Regions from separate parts of the Homo sapiens genome. Here region 2 is linked to region 1. Evidence: promoter capture Hi-C in human tissues and cell types (Jung and others, 2019). All regions are on one chromosome and are shown on one strand. The core of a region is centred on a gene start or on the middle of the fragment in contact, and the rest is flanking DNA. Distances in the headings are between cores, read along the strand shown.

Evidence for each region. Contacts are between HindIII fragments. The study calls those that stand out against the background at their distance.
Region 2: a contact is called between the fragment with the promoter of SLC25A39 here and the fragment with the promoter of FAM215A in region 1, in 1 of the 25 tissues and cell types used here (IMR-90 fibroblasts).

The regions. Positions count from the first base shown.
Region 1 is chr17:43,915,764-43,918,745 of GRCh38, reverse strand. It overlaps FAM215A (family with sequence similarity 215 member A), which reads right to left and starts at 1,538. Exons shown (of 1, transcript NR_026770.1): 1 at 759-1,538. It overlaps LOC105371787 (a long non-coding RNA gene), which reads left to right and starts at 1,522. Exons shown (of 2, transcript XR_001752898.2): 1 at 1,522-1,608. RefSeq lists enhancers at 74-894, 895-1,716. The HindIII fragment of the contact is 7,093 bases long and covers 1-2,982 here.
Region 2 is chr17:44,323,343-44,326,324 of GRCh38, reverse strand. SLC25A39 (solute carrier family 25 member 39) reads left to right here and starts at 1,502. Exons shown (of 12, transcript NM_001143780.3): 1 at 1,502-1,614; 2 at 2,748-2,847; 3 at 2,982. The coding sequence starts at 2,763. It overlaps LOC124904009 (a long non-coding RNA gene), which reads right to left and starts at 872. Exons shown (of 2, transcript XR_007065768.1): 1 at 704-872. RefSeq lists enhancers at 420-469, 1-579, 650-709, 760-839, 1,000-1,189 and silencers at 1,290-1,719, 1,740-1,959. The HindIII fragment of the contact is 13,748 bases long and covers 1-2,982 here.

The DNA.
Region 1 (2,982 bases), core at 289-2,788:
CTGATTTTTATTTTTATTTTTTGTAGAAACAAGATTTCACCATGTTGGCCAGGCTGGTCTTGAACTCCTGACCTCAAGTGATCCTCCTGCCTTGGCCTCCCAAAGTGCTGGGATTACAGGTGTGAGCCACCACGCCCAGCCAGGAAATTCAGTTTCTGAAAATACACCTGTGGATCTCTAGCCTTGAACATCCTTGTGTGCTGCTTTAAATGGCTGATCCTCAATGCCTCCCTTCCAACTCACACACGCTCGCTCCCCTACATCAATCTCCCAGAAAAAGGAACCTATTTTATTCTTTTCTTTTCTTTTTTTTTTTTTTTTTTTTTTTTAGAGACAGGCCTCACCTTGTTGCCCAGGCTGGTTTTGAACTCCTGGCCTCAAGTGATCCTCCGGCCTTGGCCTCCCAAGTTACTGAGTTCACAGGCGCGAGCCACCACGACCAGTGAAGCCTATATTAAGCCCTTTTATGCTCACTCTGCGATACTGCAGAGAGGGCAGGGAGGAAGCAGAGGTGCCCTGGCATCTTCAGCTGGCGGTGAGCAGGGCGCTGAGGGTGGGAGAGGCCGGGCGCCTGGGGATGGGAGGCAGGACCGCACCTTCACAGGGATGCTGCCACCCTACCCCGGAGGTCAGGGCCTCTCGCCCAGCTCTGGCTCTGAGGTCCTGGAGGGAGGGAGATGCTGTTGCGACTCAGAAGATCAGGGGAGGGCCACCCCCATTCGAGAAAAGTGAAAATCCTGAGCCTGAAGCAGAAGTGGAGACGGTTGGAGCGGAGGCTTCAGAGGGTGGCGTTGGGAAGAGGGTCTGGCGCCGCCGTGTGGACTGTTCGGGCTCACGGGGCTGAAGGCTCCGAAGACCGAGACCTGTGAACCGTGGGGAGGCTCCATGCGGATGGGGGCCACAGCCCCCGCCGGAGCCCCCACACTAGCCCTGGACTTCTCCACCGGCTTACGACATGATAGCTCAATAAGCTCCTTATTTAACGCACTGTTGTATCAGGTCCCTGTCGCAGCCACTGGCCCTATAGCCTAATAAAGGAGCGGGTGCACGCATTGGATTGGTGAGCTACCGCCACAGCAACAAGTCCTAATCAACCATCCCAAACGGTGGCTGGAACAAGGTTCTCGCAGGCCTGTGCTTGGGCTTGAACGCTGGGCCGGCCGCTGCGCTCTGTGGCTCCCTGCAGACCTGCGGATCGGCCAGGGGGCTCCGATCCTTTTGGGCCGTGGCTGAAGAAGCAGCGGCTGCACCAGAGAAGTCCTTCTGGGTGAAGGTGGAAGCGCACAGGGACCGCGGAACCGCCCAAGGCGTCTTCCGGCGTAGGCTCAGAACTGGCAGGCTTTCGTTTCTGCTTCATTCCATGGCCAGAGCAAGCCACGTGGGCAAGCCCGAAACCAGGGGGCGGGAAAGTACCCTCCACCCACAAGGAAACCATGGCAAGCGGTGGTTGCAGGTAGGGCTGAGGAATTGGGGCCGATAGTTCTATCTATCCCGGTGAGTGAGGAGACCTGCTTTGGGGGTTGCACAGTCTGGGTCTGCCCTTGCAGTGGTATCTGTCTCTGTGAAGACTCCACCACGGGTCGCCATCAGGTCAGAGACCCTGACAAGGTAAGAATTTGCATTTTCCTCTGCACACAACCCTGTTCCCTTCCCCTCCGCATGCCTAACACAACACTCCCTTCCCCCCCATGCCTAACAGAGAGAAAGGAGAGAGACAGTTCTTGAGCCCGGTTCTTCCTGCTTGAGCTTGGTGTGTCAACCAAAAGAGTCAAACTCTGTAAAATATTTGAAGGGATTTATTTTGAGCCTACTATGCATGACCAATGGCCCATGACAGCCTTCAGCAGATCCTGAGAACATGTGCCCAAGGTGATCAGGCCACAACTTGGTTTTATGTGTTTCAGGGAGACATCGGACATCAATAATATATGCGACATGTACAGTGGTTTGATCTGGAAAGGCTGGACAACTGGAATGGGGTTGGGGAAGTGGACGACTTCCAGGTTATAAGTAGATCGAAAGATTTTCTGATTGGCAATTGGTGGAAAGAGTTAAATTACTGTCTAAAGACTTAAAATCAACAGAAAGGAATGTTTGGGTTAAGATAAGAGATTGTGGAGACCAAGGTTTTATCACGCAGGTGAAGCCTCCAGGTGGCAGGCTTCAGAGAGAATAGACTGTAAATGTTTCCTTTCAGACTTAAAGAGTCTGTTCTATCAGTAAGTCCAAAAGGAGGGATCGTATAATTAGGCATGACTGGGCTCCCCTTCCCATCATGGCCTGAACTAGTTTTCAGGTTAACTTTGGAATGCCCTTTGCTGAGTGGAGAGGAGGAGTCCATTCAGATGGTTGGGTGAGCTTAGAATTTTATGTTTGGGTTTCAGTTGGCATCCAGTATCCCTTCCCCCAAGTTTGGGGCCCCTCCCAAAGGAGATAGGCCTGGGTCTCTCCTCACATCCTTGGGGGTCTCAGAACTGCAGACTCAAACCTTTTGCCTCAAGGAATCCCTTTGATGATTTGCATAAACCCTTGGGAGGCTGCAGGGGGGCTGCTCTGGAGCTGAGACACAGCGAGTCAATCTCCCTCCATCCCCCTTTTGTCTTGTTCTCACCCTGAGGCTGCAGGCCTCAAGTTTTTTGGCTGGATTCTTCCCAAAGCAGGTTGGGGGTGCAGGTACTGTAATCACCTGATGGGTTCTTCCTGCCTACTGCACAGACAAAACCAATCCACTGAGACCATGGCATTGCAGTAAAGAAAGAGTAATTGACACAAGGCCGGGCACACAGGAAATAGTTATTACTCAAATCGGTCTCCCCCAAAACTTGAAGATTAGTTTTTCAAAGATAGTTTGGTGGGCAGGGTCTAGGGTAGGGTAGAGGTGCTGCTGATTGGTTGGGCATGCAGATATAGGGGTATGGAAAATGGTCCTTGAATGCTGAGTCTGCTTCTGGTTGGCAGCCACAGGACTGGTTGAGTCACGAG
Region 2 (2,982 bases), core at 253-2,752, 410 kb before region 1:
CTCCTGACCTCTGGTGATCCGCCCGCCTCGGCCTCCAAAAAGGCTGGGATTACAGGCGTAAGCCACTGCGCCCGGCCTTTTTTTTTGAGACGGAGTGTTACTCTGTTGCCCAGGCTGGAATGCAGTGGTGCGATCTCGGCTCACTGCAACCTCCGCCGGCCGGGTTCAAGCGATTCTCCTGCCTCAGCCTCCCGAGTAGCTGGGATTACAGGCGCCAGCCATCATGCCCGGCTACTTTTGTATTTTTAGTAGAGACGGGGTTTCACCATGTTGGCCAGGCTGGTCTCGAACTCCTGACTTCAAGTGATCCGCCCGCCTCGGCCTCCTAAAGTGCTGGATTACAGGCGTGAGCCACCGCGCCCGGCCTGTGGTAATCTATTTCAACAATAACCTACTGCAAAGAGTTTTGAGACTCAGAAGAAATCACGATACGAGAGCAACCAACACCAAAACGTCGATGCCCTCCCGCACTCAGTGCTCTTCCTCTCCGCGCAGAGTCATTCCGGGCCTTAGGCGAGGTTGTGATTTGCCCAAGGTCACGCGAAGGTGGGATCTGGCTCCCCATGGCTCTCCCGTCTCCCCCGGCTTGCTCACGTCCCAGCCCGCCCGGCCCGGGCTGCAGCTCAGCTAACCCAGTGGCGCACACCCGCGCGGGGCCCTGTGGTTTACAAAGCGTTTTGCAGTTGCAGGCCTGTCCTGTAACCTGAAAAATGGGGGCGATGCTAAGGCCGGCGAGAGAAGTCGCCGCGAAGTTTTCAAGTCTCGGCGGGTAGCCCGGCAAGTAACTTCGTCGTTATTGTGTGGTCTCCCGGCGATCTCGAAGAACTCATTCTCACTGCCGCCGCCACGCACCTGAGGACACCGAGGAAGAGGGCCAGTGCGTCACCCTCGCCGTCCAGAAGGCGCTGGGGTTTCCAGTGCCGCGCGCGGCCGGGGCGGGGCTGGTGAAAATGCGCTGTTAAGGCCGGCGCGGCGGCTCACGCCTGGAATCCCAGCACTTTCGAAGACCGAGGTGGGCGGATCGCTTGAGCCCAGGAGTTCCAGACTAGCCTGGGCAAAATAGGGAGACAAAAATAAAAGTAACAAACCAGCCGGGCGTGGCGGCGCGCGCCTGTGGTCCCAGCTACTCCGGAGGCTGAGGCAGGAGGATCGCTTGAACCCGGGAGGTCAAGGCTGCAGTGAGCCTAGATCGCGCCACTGCCCTCCAGCCTCGGCGACAGAGCGAGGCTGAAAAAGATGCTGTCTAAAAAAAGATGCTGGAAGTGCGTGCTGCTGCCACGTTAAGCGCGACGTGGAGACCGCGAAGTTGGCCGGCAGCTCTCAGCGCTGGACAGGCATGGAACTCGCCCGCGCGGCCCCGTCAAGGGGGCGGGACCGTCGCAGGTCCGGGCGGAGACGCGAGTGGGCGGAGCCGGGGACACTCCGGGCTTGCGGCTGGTCGGCCCGCGGCGGGCGGGGCCTCGTGGCGCGGTGTAGGGGCGGGGCCCCCTTGGCTGCTTTCGGCGTCGGCCTAGGTGCGCTGCGAGCGCGCGCGGACCGCGCACAGGCGGCGGAGCCGGTATGGGCCCGCCTGACCCTGGGCGCCGCGCCGCACGAGCACCAGCCTAGAGCCAGGTAGGCGGCACTGGGCCGGGGCTGGGGGCGGAGACGGAAGCGGGGGTCTCCGGGCGGCCGTGCGAGCCAGGGCAGGTGCTGGGGCCGTCGAGCTGGCGTGGTCCCCCTCACCTGGCGGCTCTCCGCCGTTCGGGGCCGGGAGTGTCGCCGAGGGTCGGGGAGACGTCCTGGTCCTACGTTCCTACTTCCCGCTCTCCCGGCTGCGCCCCGGGCCTGCATTTTGGGGCGGGAACCCAGAGACTGCTCTTTCTCTCCGGGCCCCGGGTCTGGCCCGTCCGGCCGGGCGGGGAGGGCCGGGCATCCCAGCCCGCAGTCCTGAGGAGGCGACGGGCCCTTCTTGGTCACCGGATCTGTTTACACGTCACCCTCGATGCCCGGCCGTCCCTCCACGCCCAGTAACTTGGGCTCTCAGGTGCCTGCCCGGGGCCTTGGTGCTGGAGTGGGGGCTGTGGGGGCAGCACAGGTACTCTGATTTTGGGGCCACGAGGGCCAAATCCGCGCCTGCACGTAGGAGGTGCGCAGTGGACACGTGCGAGGTGGACGAGGGAAGGACCCTGGCTCCTACTGCATTCGAGCGATAGGTCTGGCACCCTAGCTTCCTTCGGAACCACTCCTGAGTGACCTTGGGCAGGCCACCTCGTCTCCCCGAGCCTTAGTTTTCCCCGGCGGAGGGGGGCGGACAGTCCCTGCTTTAGAGGTCATTGCCAGGGTTGTTGAGGCAACAGATGTTTCGAGGGCGGTGGATGAGGGTTGGGTTAAAGTCTCACAGTGGGCCGGGTGCGGTGGCTCACGCCTGTAATCCCAGTGCTTTGGGAGGCTGAGGCGGGCGGATCACGAGGTCAGGAGATCGAGATCATCTTGGCCAACATGGTGAAACCCTGTCTCTACTAAAAATGCAAAAATTAACTAGGCGTGGTGGTGCGCGCCTGTAGTCCCAGCTACTTGGGAGGCTGAAGCAAGAGAACCGCTTGAACGGGGGTGGATGTTGCAGTGAGCCAAGATGGTGCCACTGCACTCCAGCCTGGCAACAGTGCGCAGAGCGAGACGCCGTCTCAAAACAAAAGTCTCACAGTGGCCCAGCCTCCTTTCCTGCCATCCCTGGAGTTGTGGTCTGTTTGAGGTTTGGTTTTCAGGACTGAAGCTTCAAGATGGCTGACCAGGACCCTGCGGGCATCAGCCCCCTCCAGCAAATGGTGGCCTCAGGCACCGGGGCTGTGGTTACCTCTCTCTTCAGTAAGACCTAGGGGAGGTGGGGTGGGGGCGGGTGGGGATGGGGCAGACCGGAGATTGGAGGCTGTGTGGTCCTGGGGGAGGAGTCCTAGGGGTGGGGTCCTGAAAGGAGCCTTCAGACCCGCTTCCTCCCCCAGT